Regions from separate parts of the Homo sapiens genome. Here region 2 is linked to region 1. The links are contacts of gene promoters, found by promoter capture Hi-C in blood cells and fetal thymus (Javierre and others, 2016). All regions are on one chromosome and are shown on one strand. The core of a region is centred on a gene start or on the middle of the fragment in contact, and the rest is flanking DNA. Distances in the headings are between cores, read along the strand shown.

Region 1 (7,174 bases), core at 98-2,597:
TAGAACCATAAATGCTGGAGGCAGGTGCCACTATATTTAAGTTTAATGGAAGAACACAGACGACTCAGGTTTCTGATCTGCCCTAGATTCCAGAAACCAGTCCTTATACAAGAAAAGAAAGAAATGACACAGCAGATTAGAGACTGCAGGTTTTGCAAGAGCTGGGCAGGGCTGGGGGCAGAACAAGGGCACCTTCAGGAAGTGCCTCCCATCCCCCTTTACAGGAACTTCAGGAAGGAAAATCCACTTCGGCAGCCCAGAAAACCAAGAAATGACTGCAAATATAATACGCTTTTCAAGCTACCTGGAATCAAGCTGTTTGTGATGGCCCCTTCCAGATCATGGAGCAGAGTTACGAAGCATCCTCCGAATGGGACGAGTAAGAACGTTCTGAAGTCCCAACCAATTCTCGCACATATCTGGTGGCGTTTCTCCACCCCCACACCTCACACTCACCCAGCGGGTGGTCTCAGTCTCCCCTCTTGACTCATGCTTATCAAAGTATTCGGTCCTTTACATTCAACAAGCAACAGCAGCTCAAGATTAGCGAGCCTCACTATGTGCAAAAGGCTTTAATGTACCACAGTACCCCACTTCAGAGTTATTCTGAGTTAAACGAGATTCCGCTTGCAGAGCACCTGGCACGTAGAAAGCATTCTCAGCAGAAGTCTGTTACTGTTAATGTTTGTGCTACTTAATTCGAAAGAAACAAGTAACCTACTCAAAACCCTACTGCACATAAAAGGCGGAGGCCGAATCGAATTCAGCTCCCTTTCCCAGTTCAGGCACAAACCCTGCCCGCGAATGACAACGCCTCTCCCCGCTCCTCGCCAATTCCGCATAACTAGGGGGCTTCATCCTTAGGCCACCCTTCGGGGAGCTCCAAGCCCAGCTGTCCGCCCAGTGCCCGCCAAGTTTGCTCTGACACCCTTGGGCCACCCGCCCCACTGCCCTACTCGATTGTGCCGGAACGAGGACGAGGGCAGGCCCGCGCCAGTCTTCCGTTCCCCGAGTCCCAGCCGACTCCTCGCACCCGCGCCCTGTTCAGACTCCACCGTACCTTATCCTCCCAGGCCGCGTCGCTCCGCAGCACCTTACTCCAGACGGAGACTTTGAGGGCCCCGTTGGCCAGCTGCGGCTGAGGCGGCTCCTCCTTCCGCCGCCCGCCGCTCATCCTCCCGTCGCGCCGCCCGGGCCGGGCCTGGGGCGCGCGGGCTGAGCCAAAGGGAGTCGGGGTCTAGGGTCGCAGGTCACGGCGCGGGGCGGCTGCAGGCTCAGCGGCCCGGTCCTGCGGCGCGCTGCGGTTCCTCACAACCTGGCCAAGCTACCCGGTTCCGCCGGCTCTACAGAGCAGGCGCCGCGAAGGGAGGGGCGGTGCAGTGTCGCGCGCCCTCCCGCCGACGTGCTCACGCAGCCAATCGGCGACCGCGAAGCCATCCGAGTGAAACAGCGACCGGCGCCTTGGCGCAAGCGCGCTACTCGTGGCGGAAATGACGTCAGCATCCGCCGGGCTCGCGGTAAGGTGTGAGGGGAGGGACAATCTTGGTAGAACGGTGACATGGGCGCCAGGAGGCGCTGTGGAGACCGAGGAGGTAGGGGAAAACCGAGGCTGGACGTCAGCGTCGCCCAGTCGGCCACAGCTGCCCCTCGAGCAGCGAGTGGGGCAGGAGCGGCTCTACCTTTCCTTGCGACCTACTCGCCTGCTGAGCCCAGACCTTGCTCCAGGGTAGCTCCAAGCTGCCCCACAGGATTTAGCCCGCTTATTTTCTCCCCTAACCCTGCAAGTTCTGTAGGGCCTTGTTGAAGATGTTAACTCTTCTGTAATAACTAACCATTTCATCTTGCCCAGCACCCTCTTTTGGCACACGAGAGCCCTGAGACCCCAAAAGAGGAAATGAGATTCTGAGGCCGTATAGCAAGGTGGACCCAACCGGGGACTCCTGGGCGGCAAATACAAGGATTGGGTTAGGTATCAGGATATCTGAGTGTTCACATACAGCGTCCTCACCATGTGCTGCGTCAGTGGTTCACAAAGTGAGCTTCCGGATCAGCAGCGGCCGTATCGCCTGGGAACTGGGTAGAGGCGCAGGTTCTCGGCCCCCATTCCACGCCTACTGACTCAGAACCCCTGGGGATGGGGCTCCTTCCGGTGGCCCTCCAGGTGGTGCCAGGCTCACTGTGCTGGTAAGTCCAGAGACCAAGGCACATCCCTTCTGGACAGTGGATTTTTTTTTTTTTTTTTTTTTGAGACGGCACGGTCTCTGCTCACTGCAACCTCCACCTCCCGGGTTCAAGCGATTCTCGTGCCTCAGCCTCCCACGTAGCTGGGATCACAGGCGCCCACTACCACGCTCCACTAGTTTTTTTTGTATTTTAGTAGAGACGGGGGTTTCACTATGTTGCCCAGGCTGGTCTCGAACTCCTGAGCTCAGGCAATCCGCCCATCTTGGCCTCCCAAAGTGCTAGGATTACAGGCGTGAGCCACCTCACCCGGCCTCTGGACAGTGGATTTATAAAGACAAGTAATGTATCTGGTACCTGGGTGTGTCTGACTCCAGAATCTGTGCTCTTAACCGTTAAACTTTAAAGCTGAGAGTATCTTTTTTTTTTTTAAACAGGTCAGAGTATCTTTTGCATACCTATCAACATTCACCTGTAATTCTTCACTTTTCAGGAGTAATAGAACCTCCCTAGGGAGGCCAGGCGCAGTGGCTCACTCCCATAATCCCAGCACTTTGGAAGGCCGAGGTCGGTGGATCACTTGAGGTCAGGAGTTCGAGACCAGCCTGGCCAACATGGTTGAAAGCCCGTCTCTACTAAAAATGCAAAAAAAATTAGCCGGGCGTGGTGGTGGGGACCTGTAATCCCAGCTTCTCAGGAGGCTCGAGGCATGAGAATTGTTTGAACCTGGGAGGTGGAGGTTGCAGTGAGCCAAGATCGCGCCATTGCACTCCAGCCTGGGCAACAGAGCAAGACTTGGTCTCAAAAACAAAACAAAAAACAAACAAAAAACCTCCTAGAGAGCTTTTCCAGAATACTATAGCTGCTGTTTTCCACCCCAAGCCCACCCTGACATTGTTTCAGTAGATTAAGTGGGGCTGGACCCCCAAGGTGAAACATACTGTGATCACGTTACTGTCTGGAACTGGTGGAAGGGCCGTATACGTTATATGGGTGCACTCCTTTTGTCCTAAGTTTCCCCGTGGGTCTTGTTCTTTTCAGCCCTGCCTCTTTTCTGATCCAGTTTCCCTCCCATATGAAATGGTAAAGCTTAGCCAGTTGAAGGAAATCAAAATATTTTACCCCAAAATATGGCTCCCTAGTATAATGACTATTTTAGTTTAGTTTTTAAGACAGGGTCTCACTCTGTTGCCCGTGCTCAAATGCGGTGGCATGATCAGGGCTCACTGCAGCTTTGATCTTCTGGGCTCAAGCGATCTTCCCACCTCAACTTCCCAAGTAGCTGGAGCTGCAGGCACAGGCACATGCCACCAACCTGGCTAAGATTTTTTTTTTTTTTTTTATAGACAGAGTCTCACTCTGTCGCCCAAGCTGGAGTGCAGTGGCATGATCTCAGCTCACTGCAACCTCTGCCTCCCAGATTCAACCAGTTCTATTGACTTAGTCTCCCCAGAAGCTGGGAATACAGATGCGTACCACCACAACCTGGCTAATTTTTGTATTTTTCAGTAGAGATGGGATTTTGCCATCTTGTCCAGGCTGGTCTCAAATTCCTGACCTCAAGTGATCCGCCTGCCTCAGCCTCCCAAAGGGCTGGGATTACAGGCATGAGCCACCACACCCTGACAGGTTTGTTTTTTTTTGTTTTTGTTTTTTAATTTTCTGTAGAGACAGGGTCTCACTATGTTGCCTAGGCTGGTCTTGAACTCCTGGGCTCAAGCAGTCCTCCCACCTCGGTCTCCCAATGTGTTGGGATTACAGGCATGACCCACTGTGCCTAGCATAATGAATATCTGAACTTGAAAACCTAATCAAGGTGCTGGAAGAGACTTTTCCCGTATCTACATAAAGATATGACTGACCCACCAAGGAGAAGAGTTCTTGTTCCTCTCCCTGTTATCTCACTTTCTTTTTTTTTTGGGACGGAGTCTCGCTCTGTTGCCCAGGCTGGAGTGCAGTGGCGCGATATCGGCTGACTGGGTTCACGCCATTCTCCTGCCTCAGCCTCCCCAGTAGCTGGGACTACAGGCACCCGCCACCATGCCTGGCTAATTTTTTGTATTTTTAGTAGAGACAGGGTTTAACCGTGTTAGTCAGGACAGTCTTGATCTCCTGACCTCGTGATCCGCCCGCCTCGGCCTCCCAAAGTGATGGGATTACAGGCGTGAGCCACCACACCCAGCTATCTCGCTTTCTATTGCAGAAGAGAAGACAGTGTAACCACACCTGAACAGACCCTTTTTCAAGGTAATGACTGTCTCCAAGAATAATTTAAATTCCAAAGATAACTATTTACAGGTTAATTTCTGTTTCTGATCCATTCTTCCTAATAATCATTTGTTGTCCCTCAGTAAAATTCCTTGCTCCCCCTTCCCATAACCTGTTCTACCAGGATCCAAGCCCCCATTCTTTCTGTAACCTCAAGATGGTACAGAAGCTTCTGTACCTGGTCGGGTGCAGTGGCTCACACCTGTAATCTCAGCACTTTGGGAGGCCGAGGCGAGTGGATCACCTTAGGTTAGGAGTTCGACACCAGCCTGACCAACATGGAGAAACCCCATCTCTACTAAGATTACAAAAAATTAGCCGAACGTAGTGGCATGTGCCTGTAATTCCAGCTATTCAGGAGGCTGAGGCAGGAGAATTGCTTGAACCTGGGAGACGGAGGTTGCAGTGAGCCGAGATCGTGCCATTGCACTCCAGCTTGGGCAACAAGAGCGAAACTCCATCTAAAAAAAAAAAAAAGAAGCTTCTGTACCTTATTGGGGAGTTGGGGAGCTGGGTCTTCATTCTGAAGACTCCTGTGTATACACGTTAAATCAAATTGTATGCCTTTTTTCCTGGTAATCAATCTGCCTCATATCACTGATTTTCAGGGAAACTTCAGAGGGCCAAGAGCTTCCAAACTGACTGGTTTGGAAGTGTACCATTGTTACAAAACCTCTTTTACAGACTCCCTGCTGGCATGTAGTTCAGAAGACAAACTAATGAATCTGTCACAGAATGTTGGAAGAATGACTAGCCCTTGGCCTAAAGGTAAGTTTTCACTCTGCCAGGTCTCCCCCTGGTGAAGATGTATAATGGGGAACCTGATCTGGGGGGATTAGGGAAGGGTAAACTCTGAAGGAAGACATTAGAAGGAAAAGAGGGAGGTGAAGGTGGGAGATAACATTTAGGGAAATGAAACCATGTGGGCTAATGGTAAGGAATGAAGCCACCAGAGGGGAAGCACGGGAGAATCATGCTGAAGAGTTTGCTTCTTATCCAGGGGTAGGGGAAGCCATCAGGTTTGCATCTTAGAAGGATCATGCTTGCTGCTATTTGGGGGACTGGATCAGAATGGGGGACTAGTTAAAAGGCTGTTAAAGTCATTTAGGTGAGAGTTGGTGAGGGCACTGAAGATGCAGAAAACTGGATTCAACAGTTCTTTTTTTTTTTTTTTTTTTTTTGAGACGGAGTCTCATTCTTGTTGCCCAAGCTGGAGTACAGTGGCATGATCTCAGCTCACTGCAACCTCCACCTCCCGGGTTCAAGCGAGTCTCCTGCCTTAGCCTCCCGAGTAGCTGGAATTACAGGCGCCCGCCACCACGCCTGGCTAATTTTTTTTGTATTTTTAGTAGAGACAGGGTTTCACCATGTTTGGCCAGGCTGGTCTCGAACCCCTGACCTCAGGTGATCCACCCACCTCGGCCCCACAAAGTGCTGGGATTACAGGCGTGAGCCACCATGCCCAGCCCGTTCTTTTTTAAATTAAACATATTACTTATTTATTTATTTTGGAGACAGAGTCTCGCTCTGTCGCCCAGGCTGGAGTGCAGCGACACCATCTCAGCTCACTGCAGCCTCTGCCTCCCAGGTTCAAGTGATTCTCGTGCCTCAGCCTCTGGAGTAGATGGGATTACAGGTGTGCGCCACCACACCTGGCTAATTTTTTGTATTTTAGTAGACATGGGGTTTCACTGTGTTACCCAGGGTGGTCTTGAACTACTGAGCTCAGGCAATCTGCCTGCCTCAGCCTTCCAAAGTGCTGGGATTACAGGTGTGAGCCACCACACCCAACCAAATTAAAAATATTTTTAAGGGCCTGGCATGGTGGTTCATGCCTGTAATCCCAGCACTTTGGGAGGCCAAGACAGGAGGATCACTTGAGCCCAGGAGCTCAAGACTAGCCTGGGCTACACAGGGAGACCCCGTCTCCACAAAAAAAAAAAGAAAGAAAAAAACAATTAGCCAGGCATGGTGGTGCACACCTGTAGTCCCAGCTATTTGAAGGCTGAGGTGGGAGGCTTGCTTAAGCCCAGAAGGTAGAGGCAGCAGTGAGCTGTGATCATCACACCACTGCACTCCAGCCTGGGTGACAGAGTGAGAGACTCTCTCAAAAAAAAAAATTGTTTTTTAAATTTTAGTAAAATATATCTAACAAAGTTTATCATTTCAACACTTATTAAGTGTACAGTTCAGTGGCATTAAGTGTATTCACTTTGTTCTGCAGCCATCACCACCATCCATTTTCAGAACTTTGTCACCTTGTAAAATTGAAACTCTGTACCCATTAAAAATAACTCCTCATTCTCCCATTTCCCCAGTCCCTGGAAACCAGTTCCATTCTACTTTCTCTGTAGGAATTTGACTGTTCTAATGGGTATCTCATAGGAGTACAGTATTCGTCCTTTTGTGACTGGTTTGTTTCAGTTAGCATTATGTCCTCCAGTTTCACCCACGTTGTAGCATGTGTTAGAATTTCCTTCCTTTTTAAAGCTGTTGTATGTACATACCACATGTTGCTTACCTACTGATAGACATTTGGGTTGCTTACACTTTGACTATTCTGAATAATGCTGCTATGAATTGGAGTGTACAAATATCTGTTTGTGTCCCTGCTTTGTTATTTTGGGCATATTCTCAGAAGTGGAATTGCTAGATCATATCGTAATTCTATTTTTAATTTTTTGAGGAAGTGTTGTTTTCCACAGCAGCTGCGGCATTTTACATT
Region 2 (7,221 bases), core at 429-2,928, 290 kb before region 1:
TGATTGCCTTTACTGAGGTCAGGAGTTCGAGACCATCCTGGCCAACATAGTGAAACCCCATCTCTACTAAAAATACAAAAATTAGCCATGGTGATGCACACCTATAATCCCAGCTACTTGGGAGGCTGAGGCGGGAGAATCGCTTGAACCCTGGAGGTGGAGGTTGCAGTGAGCTAAAATTGTGCCACTGCACTCCAGCATGGGTGACAGAGCAAAATTCCATCTCAAAAAAAAATAATAACACATTTTTTAAAAACTATTTTTAATAGTTCTATCAAGTCAGATCCAGTGTAGTTCAACAGAAAAAATTTAACATGGGGGTGAGATACAAAAGTTTTGGCAGAGCTAAATGAGCATAGAGGACAGTGATTCAACAGCAGGAAGCTGCTACCACCTCTAGGATAGGAGAGACCAAGGGAGCAGGTGGGAGTCCAGGAGCTGGGGCCACCTGCAAAAGCTAGAACCACAGAATAGTCACTGCCACTGCCGCTCGTGCCAGAGGAGGTAGGGAGAGAAAAAACCTGACTTCTCTGCCCTCTTCTCACCTCCAGTCTCCCACCAGAGCCTCCCACTGACCAAATCTAACTGGAAACCAACAGGCATGGGAGCTGAGAAATGTAATTTACCGGAGTAGCTCCTGTGAGACAGAGTAGGGAGAGGAAGAGTGAAGAATGGATCTGAGAGCAAATAAGCAGATGAGGAGCACGAATCCTCCCACCAGCATTGTATTCCTGGTACAACAGAGGCTCTCCAAGATCGTGCATCATCTTGTAACCAAAGAAGATCTACCCACAAGTTCAGAACAGTTTAGCATAGAGTCAAGTATTAGGAGGCCTTGCTTCTTACCTCTATGGTTTCACGTCATTGTATCGCCTCCCTTTGGATCTCTCCCTTATTTTGGGTGGAGGAGCTTCTTTGGCTGGAGCCTATGCTGATGGGACCAACGTTAGAGCTTTGATGCAGAGAAAAATTTAAATTCTGCAGGTACATACTGTTCTTCCTCCCCTTCTTTGCCATCTTGTAGACCTGGGCCTTTTATTGCAGAGGGGACCAGGCGAGAGAGAAGCTAGGGGTTCAGTGCATCCCGTCTTTCTCCTGGGAAAACAGGACAGAGTTTGTGCTCCGTGAAGGTGTGTGAAGGAGGCCATAGAGGTGGGCAGTGGTATGCTGCTCCCAGTCATCTCTGCAGAGGCCAGTGGCTGTTTTCATGAAGGCTCTTCCTGCGTAAGACTGTAGTGTTTCTAATTTGCCCCAAGCACAGGGCATATGTAATTTGGAGTTTCCCTGGATTGAGGACAGCTAGAAGCAATCTATATGCAAGATGAGGATGTGCGCACTTGAGACTTTCACTCAGAAATAAGATGATGGAAACTGGCTTTTCTCTATTGCCTGTTTTTCTCTCTCTTCCTAATAGGATGGCGATGTTATAGCCCCACTCATAACACCTCAAAAAAAGGAATGGAACGACAGTACTTCAGTCCAAAATCCAACTCGCCTCCGAGAAGCATCCAAAAGCAGAGTCCAGCTTTTTAAAGATGACCCAATGTGAATGTCTGTAGTCAGTTGTTTACAAACTCCCTCTCCTGCACAATTCATTTAGAGGCTTCAATCATAGAATTCTGCAAATTAATGACAACTCATGCTTTAATTTTGTATTTTGAATGTACACGCATGCTGAAGCTAAGTAACTTTTAATCAAAGAAATAAGATGGTATTAGGCAAATCTTACTATACTATGAAAAGCATTACCTTGCCTATTTTTAATATTATTAAAGCCTTTCTCCTTCAGTAGTCTATTTTCTTAGAATAACAACTCTTTTATCTATTCTGAACTCTATTTTTTTTCTTTTTTAAGAGACAAGGTTTTGCTCTGTTGCCCAGCTTGGACTCGAACTTTCCTGGGCTCAAGCGACCCTCCTGCCTCAGCCCCCCAAGTAGCTGGGACTAAAGTCATGTGCCACCACACCCAGCTTACTCTGAACTTTTATGACAGATGATTGTTTTTTGTTTTTAATGTAGAAATGAGACAAGGGTACAAATTGGAACTAGAAATTGACATTGTCATTGACAAACATGGCTAAAAACAAAACATCAAATCCTGCCCCCGTGAAGAGTTCCCTGTCACCTCAAGTTTGAGGATAGTCCTCTAAGAGTGACCTAAGCATAAGTGAAAGACACCTCCCCTCACCCTTCTAGCCCCCTACAAGGTGCCAGGTTGGGGTAAAGAGTTGGAGATGATGGCCAGGAGTGGCCTCCAACACGCTGGTGAGAGGCCTGATTAGGTTTTGGGGAAGATCTGAGAGCTCTGGCCTCTTCGTGAGTGGAACATAAAGCCGCCTCTTGTTGGGAGATCCTACCCCAGTGACAGAGGAATCCCCCAAACTAGGCTGTGCCCTGGCTCCGTGGCGGCTCCAGACCCGGGTAGTGCCTTTGTCCCCTGAATACTCACTCCCCCGGTCCAGAGGGCCTTCCCACTGCCCAGCCTGGAGAAGGCCTCCCCTGACCTGCTCTCTCAGTATCCTGGAGAGCTGGCCAGAGGCCATCACAGGCATCATCCTCAGAGCTCCTCAGACCTGGGACTTTGTTTTTGCTGGTTCAGTGCATTTTGTGTATTTAAGAGCAAACACTAGCCAGGCGTGGCGGCGTGTGCCTGTAGTCCCAGCTACTTGGGAGGCTGAGGCAGGAGGATTGCTCGAACCTGGGAGGCGGAGGTTGCAGTGAGCCTAGATCACGCCATTGCACTCCAGCCTGGGTGACAGAGTGAGACTCCATCTCCAAAAAAAAAAGCACAAACACTGCACTGCCTGTGCTGAAATTAGTGACCACCCAGTGGGCTCCAGGCTCCGCTAGGTAACTTCGTTTTCCCAGCAGTGGAGTGGGCACCACCTTGGTGGGGCAGTGCCCCTGTGCCCAGGGCACACCTCATTCCCAGTTCTATAGCAATTCACCAAGAACAAAGTCTGCAGTTAGAGCCAAAGCTGGTGGTGGCCAGAGGGTGCTGAAGATACAGGCCAGTGGGGATGGGAGCCATGAGCCCCGAATGTCTTCTGCTCTGATGCTCCCCGGACTAAGCCTCCCTGGCACACTGGGAGTGAGGGGCAGCCTGAGCAAGTAGGGGAACTCAGACCACAGGCCAGCAGATTTCCCAGCAGTCCATCACTGGCCACCGTGTAGCCAGATTCTGTTCCGTCCACACTGGGGTGAAGAGTACTTGGAATGTCTGCCATCCTGTATGATCACCCCACCCCCTGTCCATCCATCAGTAGATAATAAGGGTTGGTTACAATTCATAAGAGAATAGTTAAAACACTTCTCCTCTCATGCCTACCATGGTGCTGTATCAAGGGGATTTGTTCACATATGGGCTCAGCAACGCACAAGTGAGGTCAGCCATGGCACTAGGTCATTCCCATTTTAGCCAAGGTGCCTCTATAGGGGTCAGACATCATGTGCCCAGACCTAAGGTCAGGAATGTCATATTTTTCTGTTAAAATCATTTTATTTCTGTGTATCTTACCTTTAAATCATTGTGGTTTACTCTGAGATTCTGTAGTCCTAATATTGTATCATTGTGCTGTCTGCAAAACAACTTGAATCTATTTTGTTTGCATCTTTTGTTACATGTAACGCAGCTGTACTTTATGTTCTTTGCAACTGTTTCCATTATGAGAACGCTGTGCTATTTACAAGGTTACATTTTTCTTGGCCAGGCGAGGTGGTCATGCCTGTAATCCCAGCACTTTGGGAGGCCAAGGTGGGCGGATCACTTGAGGTAAAGAGTTGAGACCAGCCTGGCTAGCATGGCGAAACCCAGTCTCTACTAAAAATACAAAAATTAGCCGGGTGAAATTAGCCGGGCGTGGTGGTGTGTGCTTGTAATCCCAGCTACTCGGGAGGCTGAGGCAGGAGAATCGCTTGAATCCGGGAGGCAGAGGTTGCAGTGAGCCAAGATCAGGCCACTGCACTCCAGCCTCGGGGTCAAGAGCGAAACTCTGTCTCAAACAAAAAGAAAGAAAGGAAGGAAGGAAGGAGGGAAGGAAGGAAGGAAAGAGAGAAAGAAAAGAAAGAAAGAAAGAAAGAAAGAGAAAGAAATATCTTTGCTATTTGTATAAAAATGGAAATTTTAACAGCTTAGCCTCTAGAGAGTTACTGAACGTGGTTACCTTGGGAATGTAAATAGAACTGCAAATTAAAATGACTGGCCACTTCAACTGGGTAAGGGAAACAGCTGCAATAAAGCTTCGTGAATATATATCTCCATCTTGAAAGTTGTGTTCCACAAAGGTTTCGACCTCTTTGTCCAAAAATGCATATTACTCATTTACTCCTTTCATACCTTCATTGTGAAATTAAATAACAGACTCACAAGCACCTGGCACTGGTGGCAGACAAAAAGGCCTCAACATTCTGCAGCAGGCCAGAGGAGGAACGACGCTGCTACAGTATTTATTAGTTCCAGTGCTCAAGCCCAGGTTTCTAAGGTTTGACAATATTCTGTAAGTTAAAATCATTTCCACACATACAGAGTAGAATCCTGTTTTTGTAAGTATACACACACACACACACACACATTCATGGAACATTGTCTGGAAGGATATACATGAAAATGTTAAGAGTTGGGGGGGGTTGAATTTTAGGCAATTTTAATTTTTTTAACGTCTTCTGGTTTTTCTACAATAAACATGAATCAGTTGTAGAACCTCTAAAATGATAATGTTCATGAGGTTGGTTTTCCTCGTTCAGTAGCTGGCGAGGAACAGCATAGTGAAAAATCTTCCCTTTGCCAGGAGGCAGGCACTAGCGGGGAAGAGATGTGGATTTTTCTGAGTTTTCTAAGACCCTGTTAGCTTAGGGTCTCTGTGCTGCTTGAGTAAGGTGTAAGCGTCTTTTAATCCTTCAAAGTCACCTCTGCAAAAGAGCAGTGCCTGCCCCCACCTGTATCTTGGGTCCCCAGGCCACAAGGAGGCTGGCCAGCAGCCTCGGCCAACTCTAGGGCCCTTCACCATCTGTGTTTCAAACAGCACAGGCTGCTGTGTGTCAGGAAGGCCTGGGTGGCATCATGAGCAGGGCTGAGTACCTGTTGCCGCAGGGCTGTCAGCTGAGAAGCCAAGCCTCCAGCTCCTGGATGCAGAACTGCTCCTGCCGGGCCAGCACCTCGTTGTTGAAGGTCGGGCAAGGGGAGCTTCCCCCGCGGAACAAGTCTCCATCCAACCACAGCCCAAACCGGCCACTAGAGAGAAGAGGACAGTCTTGGTGCGGCTCACTCCTGTGTGCTGAAACCCCCAGGCTCTGCCACCAGCATCAGCTCTTGGCCATGCCAGGACGGCAGCCCAGTTTCACCTGTCTTATCGCCCCTTAAAGCAATTTATACTGAATTATTGGGGACTCAGCACATTGTTCCCCATGGGGTTAAGAGCTTTATTTATTTATTTGTTTATTTATTTATTTATTTATTTATTGAAACGGAGTCTTGCTTTGTCACCCAGGCTGGAGTGCAGTGGCACGACCCTGGCTCACCACAACCTCCACCTCCCGGGTTCAAGCAATTTTCCTACCTCAGCCTCCCTAGTAGCTGGTATTACAGGCCGCCCACCACTATGCCTGGCTAATTTTTGTATGTTTAGTAGAGATGGGGTTTTGCTATGTTGGCCAGGCTGGTCTTGAACTCCTGACCTCAAGCGATCTGCCTGCCTTGGCCTCCCAAAGTGCTGGGATTACAGGTGTGAGCCACTGCGCCTGGTCAAGATGGCAATTTTTTTTTTTTTTTTTTTTTTTTGATAGGAGTCTTGCTCTGTCGCCCAGCCTGGAGTGCAATGGCGCGATCTTGGCTCACTGCAAGCTCCACCTCCCGGGTTCACACCATTCTCCTGCCTCAGCCTCCCGAGTAGCTGGGACTACGGGTGCCCACCACCACGCCTGGCTGATTTTTTGTATTTTTAGTAGAGATGGGGTTTCACCATGTTAGCCAGGACGGTCTCGATCTCCTGACCTCGTGATCCGCCCACCTCGGCCTCCCAAAGTGCTGGGATTACAGGCACAAGCCACCACGCTCGGTCCAAGATAGCAATTCTTAATACAAAAATTAGCCGGACGTGGTGGTGGGCAACTGTTGTCCCAGCTACTCGAGACGCTGAGGCAGGAGAATCACTTGAACCCAGGAGTCGGAGGGTGTGGTGAGCTGAGATCACACCACTGCACTCCAGCCTGGGCGACAGAGCGAGACTCTGTCTCAAAAAAAACAAAATGGCAATTCTTTAACCAAAGCTAGTACATCTCAGGGTGCAAACTCTGAGAGCCCAAATGCTTCAGAGCGTCCATTCTAATCCCCTTATTTGACAGAAAACCTCGGCTGAAACCAGGAAGTGAATTCCTGCAGATCAGCAATGGCTGATGTGTTCTGTGCCAAGCTGCCCCTCAGTGGAGGCTTTTCAGGCAGTTGGGAGAGCAAAGAATTTGCCTGGTACTAATCAAGCAATGCTCTCATCCCCGCCCTCAGGATAAGACGCATGCCCCCTGAATGTGAAGGTCACACCAGGATGAGATCAACTTTTTTTTCCTACCTCTCTCTACCCCGTCCTCACCGAGGGAGGTTCCTGCAATGAGTTATGTCCCCTGCAATTCCTGGGCTGGTGGAAAAACGAGGCACACTCATCTCTTGACGCTAGTCTCATCCAACCATGTGGAATTCTTTTCCCAAAGTTGCATACATTCAGACTAAACTGTCACCAGCTGTAACACTTCAGTGGGGGCACTCATGCATCCTTTCTCCTTAATACTGGCTTAGCGTGAGGTTGAGGGGGTTGGCTGGGAGGCTGAGCAATGAGGGGAACGGCCTGAGAGTTCCCCACTAGCCTCGCCATTGCATCAAGGGCAGCCTAGCCCAGCAGTTCGGCAGAGGGAAAGGGACCAGAACACAGACCGCCCCAAGACTCGGGAAGACTGAGACACTCACCTGCCACTGCCCATCATCAGTGAATCCAAGTCTCCCTTCACAAAGAAAGAGTTGCTTCCAGTCCACTTAAAGACCTGGGTGATACATAGGGAAAGGCTCAGGTTACTAAGCGAGCGAGTCCCGCCCTTGCAGTTTGACCCCGAACCACTGGATGGCAGTGTTGTGGCGGGAACAGCATCCAGGCCCCAACCGAGCCGCAGGTGGGACTCCGGGCTCAGGGATCTTGGGGTTTATCTTCTCAGTCTCCTTGGAGTCACCACCGCATGCCC

The links. The method cuts DNA at HindIII sites, captures the fragments that hold promoters and counts their contacts. A CHiCAGO score of 5 or more calls a contact.
Region 2: a contact is called between a fragment that was not itself captured here and the fragment with the promoter of RAB5IF in region 1, in 5 of 17 cell types (endothelial precursors, total B cells, total CD4 T cells and 2 more). The highest score is 7.8, in endothelial precursors.

What each region holds. Positions count from the first base shown.
Region 1 is chr20:36,599,952-36,607,125 of GRCh38, reverse strand. RAB5IF (RAB5 interacting factor) reads right to left here and starts at 1,347. Exons shown (of 4, transcript NM_018840.5): 1 at 1,061-1,347. The coding sequence starts at 1,174. The region is part of intron 2 of TGIF2-RAB5IF (TGIF2-RAB5IF readthrough); the gene reads right to left. RefSeq lists enhancers at 1-202, 1,554-1,693, 2,424-2,473, 6,969-7,038 and silencers at 1,044-1,353, 2,033-2,432. The HindIII fragment of the contact is 5,705 bases long and covers 1-3,272 here.
Region 2 is chr20:36,887,260-36,894,480 of GRCh38, reverse strand. It overlaps TLDC2 (TBC/LysM-associated domain containing 2), which reads right to left. Exons shown (of 7, transcript NM_080628.3): 5 at 6,953-7,026; 6 at 5,078-5,230; 7 at 246-1,619. The coding sequence ends at 5,095. SAMHD1 (SAM and HD domain containing deoxynucleoside triphosphate triphosphohydrolase 1) reads left to right here. Exons shown (of 16, transcript NM_015474.4): 16 at 1,415-4,252. The coding sequence ends at 1,549. Among named protein-coding and RNA genes, the nearest start is that of TLDC2, 15 kb to the right of the region's middle. RefSeq lists an enhancer at 6,571-7,221. The HindIII fragment of the contact is 5,127 bases long and covers 1-4,241 here.